Linked DNA regions of Homo sapiens: region 1 is linked to region 2. The links are contacts of gene promoters, found by promoter capture Hi-C in human tissues and cell types (Jung and others, 2019). All regions are on one chromosome and are shown on one strand. Each heading gives the region's core, a stretch centred on a gene start or on the middle of the fragment in contact. The rest is flanking DNA. Distances are from core to core; before and after follow the strand shown. Region 1 overlaps POLN (DNA polymerase nu). Region 2 holds the start of NAT8L (N-acetyltransferase 8 like).

What was found. Contacts are between HindIII fragments. The study calls those that stand out against the background at their distance.
Region 1: a contact is called between a fragment that was not itself captured here and the fragment with the promoter of NAT8L in region 2, in 2 of the 25 tissues and cell types used here (bladder and dorsolateral prefrontal cortex).

Annotation. Positions count from the first base shown.
Region 1 is chr4:2,211,141-2,218,113 of GRCh38, forward strand. It overlaps POLN (DNA polymerase nu), which reads right to left. Exons shown (of 26, transcript NM_181808.4): 4 at 1,907-1,986. Among named protein-coding and RNA genes, the nearest start is that of HAUS3, 27 kb to the right of the region's middle. RefSeq lists a silencer at 4,342-4,636. The HindIII fragment of the contact is 4,456 bases long and covers 1,987-6,442 here.
Region 2 is chr4:2,055,761-2,062,215 of GRCh38, forward strand. NAT8L (N-acetyltransferase 8 like) reads left to right here and starts at 3,567. Exons shown (of 3, transcript NM_178557.4): 1 at 3,567-4,127; 2 at 5,238-5,402. The coding sequence starts at 3,752. The HindIII fragment of the contact is 12,290 bases long and covers 1-5,941 here.

The DNA.
Region 1 (6,973 bases), core at 2,965-5,464, 160 kb after region 2:
CTCAGAGGCTGAGGCAGGAGAATCGCTTAACCCAGGAGGCGGAGGTTGCAGTGAGCCGAGATCACACCACTGCACTCCAGTGCAGGTGACAGAGCGAGACTCCGTCTCCAAATAATAATAATAATAATAATAATAATAATAATAATAATAATAATAATAAGAGGATTGTGGATATCAAGTTGTCAAAGTGCATATTTAATTTTCGTGAATATATTTTAAATGGTAATGTAACAGTAAAAATGTCAATATTAACAATAGAGCAGAAATCATGTACTTTGCAATTTTTTAAACTTGTGATAAGGATTTTAAATTTCAACTTTAAAATATGTCAGGCAGTACAGATAGTTTGAGAAGTCCAGGTATGGGGGCTCATATCTGTAATCCCAGCACTTTGGGAGGCCGAGGTGGGAGGATCGCTTGAGCCCAGGAGTTTGAGACCAGCCCGGGCAACATGGTGAAACCCTGTCTCCACCAAAAATACAAAAATTAGCTGGGCAATGATGGTGTGTGCCTGTAGTCTCAGCTACTTGGGAGGCTGAGTTGGGAGGATCACTTGAGTCCAGGACTCAATTAATTAGCTGGGCATGGTTGCAGAGGTGGAGGTAGAGATTGCAGTGAGCTGTGATCACACCACTGCACTCCACCCTGGGTGACAGAGTGAAGGCCTGTCTCAAACAAACAAACAAACAAAAACAACAAAATTCTTTTGAGAGAAAGGGAGCAAAAAGTTTGCAGACCCCTGCCTTCGGGATCCAAGGAGCACAGTCTGTTCACCACTGAGAGATACAATTTCCATTCATTTACAGAGGGAAGAAGAGAAGAGTCCCTTCTCTGTGGAAGATGCCTCTTCCCTCCACTCCAAGGGCAGATAATCATCCTATGAACCCAGGGGCAAATAATCATCCCATCAACCCAAGAGACAGGTCCTATTATCTCACTTTACTATAGGGCATTTAGGTTTAAATTTAATTAGGTTGGGAGTTGAACACAGGTAGTTTACTCCAAAGTCCATTCTCTTAACCACTATGTTGCCTGCACCACTTTCATACACAAGGTCTTTGGTGATACGACCTCTCTGGCCCACACCACATAACTCACCCATTGTGAATGTTATAGCCCTGCCTTTCTGAAATTCTATTATTTCCACTACCCAAAGTTCCAAGCTTTCTTCCCTTATCTGAAAAATTTCTCAATGTTTTGCCTCTACTCCCTTAAAGGTGGGGATCTTTTTATTTTTTATTTCTATTTTTTAGACACTGAGTCTTGCTCTGTTGCCCAGGCTGGAGTGTTGTGGTGCAATCACAGCTCACTGCAGCCTCAAAATCCTTGGCTCAAGTGATCCTCCAGCCTCAGCCTCCTGAGTAGCTGGGACTACAGGAGCATGCCACCATGCCCAGTTAATTTTTTTTTTTTTGTATTATTTTTTGTAGAGACAGGGTCTCCTTATGTTGCCCAAGCTGGTCTCAAATTCCTGGCCTCAAGTGGTCCACCCTGCTCAGCTTCCCAACGTGCTGGGATTACCTGTGTGAGCCACTGCATCCAGCCTAGGTCGATCACCTCCTAATTATCCAATAGATCTCAACTCAGATATAATTTTCATACTTCAGAAAGACATCCCTGACTCTTCTCCTCAACACCCAGGAGGGCAAAATGAAATAGCACAAAAACTGAGTTAGATGTTCCTCCTATTGTCCCCAGAGCACTCTGAACTAACTTCTCTCATGGCACCTACTTGCCCCTCCCTGCATCCAAATTAAACTATAAGTTCTTGGAGAGCAAGAACGCCTCTTTTTTTTTTTTTAAGGTGTGGTATCTACAGTGCCTAGCACACAGTAGAACACTTAATAAGCATCTATTGAACAAATAAGTTATCTATTTAAAATTACTCATATGTGCAATGATTTACCTTTTTTTCTGGTGATTGAGTCTTCCTGTCTTCAAGTTGTACTGAATACTTAACACTGGACTTGTTTATCACTTCCATAGCTTTTAAAAACAACAAAAAAGAAACATGGGGCATTAAAGAAACATTGATATCTAAGTCACACAGTTAACTAAACACTGAAATAACCTCTATAATCATGCTTATTTATTCATTATTAACTTACTTAAAACAATGTAATAAAATTCACAAGTAAAATGCTTAGTACCATTGCAATAAATATTTATGTAAAGTACCTTCAAGTTAACTGAAGATAACTCTATATAATCATAAAACATTTATTAAAAATCATTATTTGACATTTGCATTTGAATACATGACTCTAAAAACCCAAGGTCAACTTTTATAGAAACCTTAAAAGGATTAAAGGTTTGGGGAAATTCTTAGACTGAATACTGCAGTGGAACAATTGAAGGTTCAGTAAAACATCATTAAAACAAACTTCTAATTTAGATTTTGATTTAATTTCAATAAGCCTGGGCTGAACAGTAAGTGACAGAACCAGGATCCAATCCCAGGCAATAGGATTTGGGAGTCTGTGCTCTTAACCACTGTGACATACATTTCCTCTGCAGGAACAATAACAACCTGAAATGCAAATAGGGGAAAATATTTCACTTACAATATAAAAACATTATACTTAGGATAAATATAACAAAAAAGATACAAGGCCCTCAATGATGAAAATGTAAAATCTTATTAAATGGCATAAAAAAAGATCTGTACAAATGAAAAGACACAGCATTAGGATATAGATCACAAAATGTTTAATTCTTCTAAATTTAAGGCAATTCCAATTGGAGACCCTACAGGGATATTTTAATTTAATAAAATAATTTCAAAGTACGAAAAGACAAGAAATGTAAGCTTAGGCCGGGCGTGGTGACTCACGCCTGTGATCCCAGCACTTTGGGAGGCTGAGGTGGGTGGATCACCTCAGGTCAGGAGCTCGAGACCAGCTTGGCCAAAATGGTGAAACCCCACCTCTACTAAAAATACAAAAATTAGCCAGGTGTGGTGGCAAGCACCTGCAATCCCATCTACTTGGGAGGCTGAGGCAGGAGAATTGCTTGAACCCGGGAGGTGGAGGTTGCAGTGAGCCGAGATTGCGCCACTGCACTCCAGCCTGGGTTACAGGGCAAGACTCTGTCCTGGGAAAAAAAAAAGTAAGCTTAAAAAAGAGAGAGAGAAAAGACCTCTAGAAGAGAACAGACAACCCAGAGACTGATCCCAAGACTTTATATACAACAAAGATAGTATTTCAATTCAATAGAAAAGGATAGATTAATTAATAGGGCTGGTATAACTAGCACCACATCAAAAAGAAAATAAATGCATTGGGAAAACTATTTGGAACAAAAATGACAAAGGGTTAACTGCTATATTATACAACAAGTTCTCATACATTTACAAGATAAGACAAACAATTCAACAGAAAAATGAGCAAAGAATAGGAAGAGGCAATACACAAAACAGAAAACCCAAAGAGGAAACAAATACAATACTCAGGGAAACGCAAATTAACTATAACTGGAAACACAGGGGAAGAGGTAGTCTCATGTATTGCTGGTAAAAATGTAAATAGACTCTTTCTAGAAGGCAAACTGTCAAGACTTATTAAAATTAATAATGCATACATCACTTTGGGAGTTGGGTGGAGAAAGTGACCCACAGGGAGCTCAAGATGGGCCTCTGGGAATGCTAGTTATGTTTCCTGAACTGGGTTTGGGTTTGTGAAATTTTGACCTAAACTAAACTTAGGATATGTGTGCTGTTTTATATATATACACACACACATATACACATACATATACATATATATGTATATACATATACATATATATGTATATACCTCAGCCATATATATATGAGAGACAGAGTGCTCTTGCCTTAACAAAAACAGATAGGAAATAATATCCATCATCTAACCAAATAATCTCTAACCAAATAATCTCACTCTTGGCTGTTTCACAGAAATATATGCAACAGTAAACAGGTTTAAACCAAAATGTTTATAGCAGTATTGCTCATTATGGCAAAGGACTGAAAATAAAGTAGATACCAATCAGAAGAAAACTGAGGAATAAATTACATAATATCCACATCATGAAATACATAGCCACTAAAAAGAATGACCTTGTTAAAACATAGATTGCAGGGGGGAAAATGACTCCAGCTATAGTGGTTGACTGAAGATGATGACCTCATTTTTAAAAATAATGACCAAATCTCCCCGCTTATGCACACGAAGATGTTACGCACATAACACTCGGGTACCCTGGGAGACCACCTCTGTGATGAAGGTTTGCATTTGAAAAGGTGATTGGAGAGTGAAGGAAGCAGAATCCAACCAAGGAAGACAATGGCTAAGATGCAGTCACTCAAAGGCCTGCCCTGAGCTGAGCATGGTCCTACAGATGTGTCTCCCAATGGGTCAAGACAGCTGGGCTTTTATACCCCTGCACAAACTAGTCACTGGACCAGTCACTCCTGGGGAAGGGGTGGGCCCTTGGGCAAAGAAGTTCTTTGCAGCCAGGCAATCAGGGAGGGGCTGTCCCAGGAGCAGGGACAGTGCTTCAGTACTAAAGGGGCATATGGGAACCACAGTGCTTGCTACACTCCACACTGCACTGCTCATAGCCACTTGCTTCAGGGACGTTCTGGGAGCAGCTCCTGTAGGATTCTGGCGGGCCTTTTCCTTGGGAAATTTATAAAAGGAAGGCACTGGGATGAACTACATCTTGCTGCAGCTGGCCTCAAGGTTGCAAATTACATTCATCTCCCTCCTCTACTGCCCATGCTAACTCCTCACCCTTGCCTATCTCCTCTGCTGCTCTAGGTGGCTTAGCTTACCTGATCAGGTAACCCAAACCCTCATCCCTGAGAGGTAAGCCCCTGGCCACCATGCCCTTCTCTGGCCATAGCCCCAGCATTTGCCATCAAATTTGGGCAGGGGACCATGAGGTGGCCAATCACATCACCTGGGTGCTTCCCTGCCCCCAGTTATGTAGTAACAGCTCTACCTCCACCTGACGCCCACGGTCAGCCACCCCAGAAGATGGAAATTACATTCCTTGCCAGCCAGTCTCTTGGCACAAGGAGCTCAAAATGACCAGACAGCAGCCACAGCTGGAAATTAAATGGCGTTCTTCCTGTGCCCCTGCTGGAAAGGTTTTCCCTTTGAGAGTCAAGACCTTTAAACCTTAAGAACCCAGAGGAGTGTGAGGGAGAAATACAGATTTCTAAGTGGGTCACTGGGAGTGATGACTTTCACCTTTTGGTTCCCAGACCCATTTATTACACAAACCAAGGACACTGCACCACGTACTGGTTAGTGATTTGCAGTGCAGACTGCACCCTGGAGGTGACTGCTTCATCACAGGTGTCACCTCCAGGCTGCACACGAGGTGAGCTGTGCCTTCCACAGACCATCCTGCTGCTCCATCAGGCTGGCAGCTTCTTGGTGTGTGGCTGTGAGGGAGACAGTGAGTCCTACTCTCATGTGCCCACTGCTGCAGTTCCTTGGCTGAGCGCAGGATCCTGTGGATCAAACACTCTGTGAAACTTGGGTGATGGAGCTGACTGAATCCATGAGAATGGGAAAGGCAAACCCATGCCTGTAACGTGTGTTGGTTCTGGCCAAGATGAATCACTGTACCTTCTAGGGCACAAGGGGTTCAGTGTTGTCAAATGACTGTTTCCCTCCAAGGAAGGTACAACTGGGGACTCAGTGTTTGGTCTCTGTTGCTGGAAGATTGGATGTTCTGCAGAGAAATAGCTAGGTCAGCTCTGGTGAGGGGGAGCCCCATGCTATGGGCCATGCACAGCATCTACCCACCCCATGATTACTCCATGAGAGAGCCCAGTGTGCCAGCATGGGCGCAGCAGATGGCAGAGGCTAGATGTCAACTGGCCAAGTCATCCTATTAATGTGGTGGTTTGGTGTGTCCCCATGGTGAATGTTCTTGGGTGGGAAGTACTTCGTGACTGTTCCCACAGATCCCTCCACATGCCTTACTCCAGGAACTCCCTGATCTTCCAATCTTTCTCATTCCAGGTACCTGAGCAACCTGTCAAGCCACTAACCGCTGCCCAAGAGTTCCAAATGTGTTAACACTGGGGCCACTTCTCCTTCCACACAAAGTAGATAGTCAAGGGGCACCACCCAACGTTCTACCCATTGGGTTTCCCTTGAGCACTGTCTTCCAGGGCTGCCTAAATCAGGCTGTTCAGAGCCCACCCACCATGAACCAAGCTCTAACTTTTCCTGCCTCCATCAGCTGGTCTTAAGGCTGCCCCCGTCAGAAGTACCAGTGCCAGCACCAATGATGTCATGGGTTCTGGGCCACATGAAAAGCTTGGTTGTGCCTGCTTGTACCTAGTACTAAATGAGCCACTTCCAACTTGCAATGGACAGCTGCATGCCCACCTCTCAGTGGGTCTGACAGAACCAGCTCATGCTGGCAGTTCTGGCTCATGGTCACTTGATGTCACCATGGCCTCACGCTCCATCTCTACCAGGGCCCAGTAGCATGACAGTTTTGTTTTTGAAAAATTTATAATTTGTTTCTGCAGATAGCATTGCCTTGCTCCAGAGTTCTAGGAGTCTGCATTGAGATTCTTCTGTTGGGGCTTTGCCTTAAGCTTCACATGGCATCTTTCCCCACTACAGATACCTCTAACATCACAAGGTCTGTTGGGTTGGAAGTCCAAGTAGCTGAGCCACTTGCTTCACAGCCTAGGCCTCTTACAGGATGCTTTCCTATGCAGTATTCCCAATGTGGAATATGCTGCCTCCACTCCCTAAACCCAGAGATGCCTATCAGGTGTTATGGTTCACTCTTAATGGTTATGTGGTTAACCACGTTGCAGGATGACTCGACCAGTTAACATCTTCATTCTTAATGCTTCATTCTTAAAAATGCAGTAATTTAGCCAGGTGTGCACTTGTAGTCCCAGCTACTCGGGAGACTGAAGCAGATCACTTTGACCCCAAGAGTTTGAGGCCAGCCTGAGCAACACAGTAAGACC
Region 2 (6,455 bases), core at 2,317-4,816:
CATGTAAGAAAAATAGGTTATGTCTTTGGTAAAGATTATAAAGAAGGCATGAAAATGTGGTTTTTGTTATGGGAAGAGTAAATTTGTCTAGAGGTTTTTAAAGGTTTAGTTGAAGGGATAAAAACGAATGATAGATAAGAGTGGATATAGAAAGCTGTGGAAAGAAAGAGAATGGGGTAAACTGTGAGACGTTATAAAAGATTTATTGGGCTGGGCGCGGTGGCTCATGCCTATAATCCCAGCACTTTGGGAGGCTGAGGCGGGCGGATCGCCTGAGGTTGGGAGTTTGAGATCAGCCTGACCAACATGGAGAAACCCTGTCTCTACTAAAAATACAAAATTAGCCGGGCATGGTGGCACATGCCTGTAATCCCAGCTACTCGGGAGGCTGAGGCAGAAGAACTGCTTGAACCCAGGAGGTGGAGGTTGTGGTGAGCAGAGGTGGTGCCATTGCACTCCAGCCTGGGCAACAAGAGCGAAAATCCATCTCAAAAAAAAAAAAAAAAAAGGATTTATTGGCCAGGCATGGTGCCTCATGCCTGTAATCCCAGCACTTTTGGAGGCTGAGGTGGGAGGGTCGCTTGAGCCCAGGAGTTCCAGACCAGCCTGGACAACATGGAGAAACCTTGTCTCTCTCTGAAAAAAAGAAAAAAGAAAAAAGAAAAAAGATTGATTGACATCTTACCTTGCATAGTGAAAGCTGGTTGGGATTGGAGGGATTGGCATTCCCATTGTGCTTGCAGCCCTCCTCCATCTTCCAGACTGTGGAACGCACAGGTGGGATAATAGAAAACCCATCTGCAATGCTGAAACCAGCTTCTAACACTCCCTGGCCTAAGGTGTTTCCACTGTGGTGCTGAACTGGGGTTCTGCCCTGTTTGGAAAACATCAGCTTTCTCTCTTTGAAATAATACCAGGAAGGCCCTGTGCCTGGATGAAGGAGCCTCCAAACCAGCTCCCCTTAAAGGCGATATTCTTCATTATTGCCGAGACCCTATAGAGCTTCTCACTGCACATTCTAAATTAATTAAGGATTCTGTTAACGGCGAGTTCTCAGGAGATGAAGACATGAAAGTTCAAGGTCTCCAACCTGGAGATTTCATGAGAAAAGCATCAAATATAGGACTTCCTCCAACCACAATAGATGGGACCACACCAGGCAGCCTCGCCAGAGAGGTCGTTTCCATCACTGGAGAACTTCAACATCTTGTTCTTCAGGCCAGGACCAGAAGGAGACAAAATAGGTATCTGGTTACCTTCAAAAATAGAAGCACTCTTCAGTTCTAGATTTCAAATTGTTAATAGTTGCCCTTATTTGTGTCATTTTTTCTTTTTCTTTTCTTGTTTTTGAGGCAGAATCTCAGTCTGTTGCCAGGCTGGAGTACAGTGGCACGATCTCAGCTCACTGCAACCTCCGCCTCCCGAGTTCAAGTGATTCTCCTGCTTCAGCCTCCCAAGTAGCTGGGATTACAGGCGCCTGCCACCACACCCGGCTAATTTTTGTATTTTTAGTAGAGGCGCAGTTTCACCATGTTGCCCAGACTGGTCTCAAACTCCTGACCTCACGTGATCCACACGCCTCGGCCTCCCAAAGTGCTGGGATTACAGGCATGAGCCACCACGCCCGGCCCATATTTTTCATTCTTAAATTGATTAGGCTTTGTGTTTCTAGATGTCCAAAGTCAACCAAAAAACCCCGAGGATGCTAGCTAGATGCTCAGAAGCCATCCGGTATGCGTGGCTCCTTCATAGCAGACGGCCTGACAGACCCCGTGCCAATCAACCTTGGCCTTGAGGCCTCACGAAGTTCTTAAGCGCCCACCGCACCTGTCCTCTTTCCCCCCATGCGGGGTGAGATGGCCCGGGAATGAGCCTTCCCAGCAGAAAAACTTACATCTAGAATGTCGATCATCACTGCTTTGAGAAGAGAAAATTTTTGATCAAACACGAGAAATGAGAAAAGAAAAATAGCCGGAGCTATGTGGGATTCTCAAAGATTATCTGGCCCAGAGACACCTGAGTACAGGGCCTCAGTCCCGCCTCCCCACTCACGCCCGGGGCAACTGCTGGAAGGCATTTTGTTCTTTCTTTTCTTTCCTATAGTGTCCGCCTGGCCGCCTCAGCGTCATCTTCATGTTCCTGGAATTTGTGACAAATAATGTACACCAATCAATAGCTTATGCCATTTTAATGCAAATTCTTGGTGAATTTAGGAGCTGCGTCTTCATTTTTCCTTTAAAAACGCACTTGCAACTGCTGCGAATGAGAGCGCGTGCATTCAGACCAACCTGAGTCTGTCCTTCCACGCTGCAGTCCTCAAACTTGGCCCCAACAAACTATTTCTATTCGTTTTGCCTGTTTTCTCCTTTAGGTTGAAAAGCTGACAGCGGGCCCCAGACACTGAGGGGGCGCCTTCCCAGCTTGGCTTCCCCTCCCCCCCACGCCCCCACCCCGTCCCCTGCCCCTCTCCAGGGCCCGTTCTCTGGCGGACGGGGCTGTGGACCAGTTCAGCCGCCCCTCCCCACCCCACCAGGGCGCTGCGGCCTCACTCCCACGTCCACGGGCAGGCCCAGCCCCTCCTGGCCTTCAGGTGACCTCAGCTGCCCGGCTGGCCCCAACTCCACCGCACAACGCAGACTGCGGGTCCCCAGGCCTGGACCCCTGGCCCCGTCCCGCCCGCGCATGTCGGGGAAGCTCTGCTCCGGCAGCCCTCGGGGTGGTGCTGGGAGGTCGCGCAGAACTGAAGGGGGCTAGGTTCGAGAAGCGCCGAGGATGGGGTCTGCGACCGCCTCCCCGCACCTGAGCTTCTCCGCCCCAGCCTGCGGCGTCTGCAGGTCCTACAAGGCGCAGAGCCCCCGCTGCACCTGCACCGAGGCCACGGGGCGCATGCGCGGCCGCGGGGGGCGGGGGCCGGGCCGGGAGGGGTCCTGCGGGCCCCGCATCCCCGTGCCCACTGCGGGGCTCGGACAGGGGGGCGCCGCGCCAGGCCGCAGACCCCGCCCTTCCGCGTCCCCACTCCGGCTGCCCGTGCGGCTCCGGACGAGGCTTCCCGGGGGCTCCGGGCCGGGGCAGCCGCGGCGCCCTCTCCCCAGGTCCACCGCGGGCGCTGCTTTCAAACAAAGGCAGGAGACGGAGCGGGAGACGCTGCCGTGACTGCTCCGGGCGGCCGCGGAGGAGGAGGAGGAGGACGTGGCGCCGCGATCGCCAGCGGTCGGGCCCGGGGTCGGGGCGCTCCCAGGCGCGCGGCGTGGGAGCGGGGGGCGGGGCGGGCGGCGCCCATCACGCGCTCCGCGGCCGGGTCCCGAGCCCCGCCGGACGCCCCCGGGCCAGGAGCCCCCGCCCGCGCCGCCGCCCCCGCCCGTGCCGGGCCCCTCGCGCTGCCCGGCCGCCCCGTCGCGCCCAGCGAGCCACCCGGCGAGGCGGGGGCGGCGTCTCCCCCACCCCCGCGATCACATGGTGACCCCCGGCAGCCAATGCAGTGGACGCTAGGACCCTGCGGGCCGCGGGCGCCGCGACTGCACCGGCGCCGCCGCATTATAAATACTTCTCCAAAATGCGGCGCAGCTCCCTGCGCGCGCCCCGGCCGCCCGCCGCCTCCGCCCCGCGCCCCTGAGCTGCCGCCGCCGCCGCCGCCGCTGCCGCCGCCGCCGCCGCCGCCGCGGGTCCGAGGGCGCCGCGCCCTTGCCCTGGGCCCGGCCGTGCCCGCCGCCGCCCGGCCGCGTCCCCGCTGCCGCGCCGCCCGGCCGGGTGCATGCATTGTGGGCCTCCCGACATGGTCTGCGAGACGAAGATCGTGGCCGCCGAGGACCATGAGGCGCTGCCGGGGGCCAAGAAGGACGCGCTGCTCGCCGCCGCCGGCGCCATGTGGCCCCCGCTGCCCGCCGCGCCCGGGCCGGCCGCCGCGCCCCCCGCGCCCCCACCTGCCCCGGTGGCTCAGCCTCACGGCGGGGCGGGGGGCGCGGGGCCGCCGGGGGGGCGCGGCGTGTGCATCCGCGAGTTCCGTGCGGCCGAGCAGGAGGCGGCGCGCCGCATCTTCTACGACGGCATCATGGAGCGCATCCCTAACACGGCCTTCCGCGGCCTGCGGCAGCACCCGCGCGCGCAGCTGCTCTACGCCCTGCTGGCGGGTCAGTGCGCCGGGCCCCCGGCTGCCGCAGTCCCTCGGGCCGGCGCGGAGCTCCCCCGCCCCGGCGTCCACGCGGACCCCGCGCCCGGCTCCCGGGGACCAGCCTGGGAAGCCCCCCGCTTTCTGCCGCGCCGGGCCCCGCGCAGGGCTGGCTATGGGCGTGGGGATGGGCGCAGGGCCCCGAGCGGGCCGGAGCCGGGGAGGGTCCGGGGTCCGCACCTGCGTCCCCGCCGCGCAGCCCCCCACCCCCACCGCCTCCCCTGTCCCCTCCCGGGCATCCTGGGTGGGGGCGGGTGCCAGGGCAGGTAGCGCCCGCCGCGGCTGGGCCCCGGCGAGTGCCTAAATATAATCTGCGGGCGGGGGAGGCCGCCTCCCGCTCGGTGCTAATTTATGAGGGGAAGACAGCCGGCGCCGCGGGGGGTGCGCGCGCCTGGCACAGCCGGGGCGGTCGCAGAGGGCGGCCCCTTCAGCGTCTTTGGGTGCCCTTCCCCTCAGAGCTTCCTGCCGGGGTGAGGGGGTTCGCTCCCATTTTACAGATGAGGCGCTTGAGGCCGCGTAGGGAGGACGCGACTCCCCCAAGGTCACGGCAGCCGAAATGCGGCTGGAAGCGGTGTGGGGCCTCCCTGCCCTGTCCCTGCCCTCAGAGCTCCCGGACGCTGGCCAGGAAGGGCTCTTGCTGGGGCCCTGGGAAGAGGGGGTCCTGGAGCCCGAGGCTGGAACGTGGGACACCCCCCTTCCTCCTCCCCCCTCCCCCCTCCCCCGCGCGGGGCCTGGTCTGCGGGGCAGCTCCCTGCCAGGATCTGCCCACCTTGGCTTCAGTAGGCCAGCGTGGGCAGAGTCCTTCCCGGCCCGGCCATCCCGAGGGTGTCCTGCCGTGTTTGGAAGCTCAGAGACCCGCCGAGGCTCATTCCAGGCGGTGGGGGTGGGTGGGGTGGCTGTCTTCACCGCAGGAAGCTTGGAAATAGGGAGAAGTAGAAAGCACCCGAGATGACCCCGGCTCCTCCACCAGGAGCGCGGCCGGGCGCGGCGTCCCTAGCGGGCTTCGCCGGGGTGGCGTCTCTGGGGCCTGGGGACCCCCGCCGCGCCGCTGACCCGCGCCCTCTGCCCCCAGCGCTGTGCTTCGCCGTGAGCCGCTCGCTGCTGCTGACGTGCCTGGTGCCGGCCGCGCTGCTGGGCCTGCGCTACTACTACAGCCGCAAGGTGATCCGCGCCTACCTGGAGTGCGCGCTGCACACGGACATGGCGGACATCGAGCAGTACTACATGAAGCCGCCCGGTGAGTCCCGCTCCCGCCGCTCCCCGACCTCCGCCCCAGACAGCCCTCGGGGGCACGCACTCCAGCGACCTCAGGGCAGGCCTGGGCGAGGGCCGGCGTGGGTGGGCCTGAGCCGGGGCCCCTGTGACCTGAGCCTTCTGGGTGACCGAGGCCTCCGGTGTCAGCGGGGCTGGGGGAGGCACGGCCGGTTCCTCCCGCTGAGTGACCTGAGCTGGCCCTGCGACGCAGTGGCTCCACCGTTCCCTGCTGTGGATGCGTCTCCCTGGCGCCTGCTGCGGTGGGGCAAGGGCCGCTGGGCTCTGTGGGTCCCATCTGGTGTGCCTTGCGGGGATGGGGTTGCCTGCAGTGCCAGGGTCCTGGGGGGAGAGGGCTTGTGTGGCAGGGGCCGGGGACCCTATTGGGGCACAGAGGATGGGGTGGGGGCAGGGGACCTGACCTTGAGCCTTGGCCTTCACTTCTGGCCTGATCGCTGGGCCGCTTAGCTGAAGGGTTTTGTCCCAGCCTCTGTGGCCTTCTATAGCTGGAGGAGCTGGGTCTGGGCTCTAGGGGGGGTGGGGGTTGTTCTCCACCCTCGGGCTGGCCCCCAGCCGCTGAGCCACACCGGTTCCCCCATGCCGGATGCCGCAGGGGTGAAGACTCTGCTCTCTGGGGTGGGAGGCTCTCTGCGATCCTGGAGCGTCTGTAGGCCAACGAGAGGGACAGAGTGTGGCCCAAAGGGTTGGGCAGGGTCTGTCAGGAGCCCGGTCAGTGTCAGGGGAGGGGCAGTGTCTGGCACCGCTGGCTGCCATGCTCCACCCCCGCGCCACGGCCTTGGTGCCTGCTGCTCTCCCTGACCCTTTCCTAAACCCAAACAGAGCATCTGAGCAGCCCCTGAGCCCTGGCCAGCCTCTGCTTGGGAGGGGAAACGGGCCATGAGGAAGCACAGGCCACAGCAACACAGGGGGCTCCGGTGGGCACACGGGGCATGGCCCTGCTCCCTCTGGGCCGTGGCCTCCCTGGTGTGAGGGAGTGGAGGGGTAGCTGGCAGGGCTGCAGGAACACCCCACGAGGGCA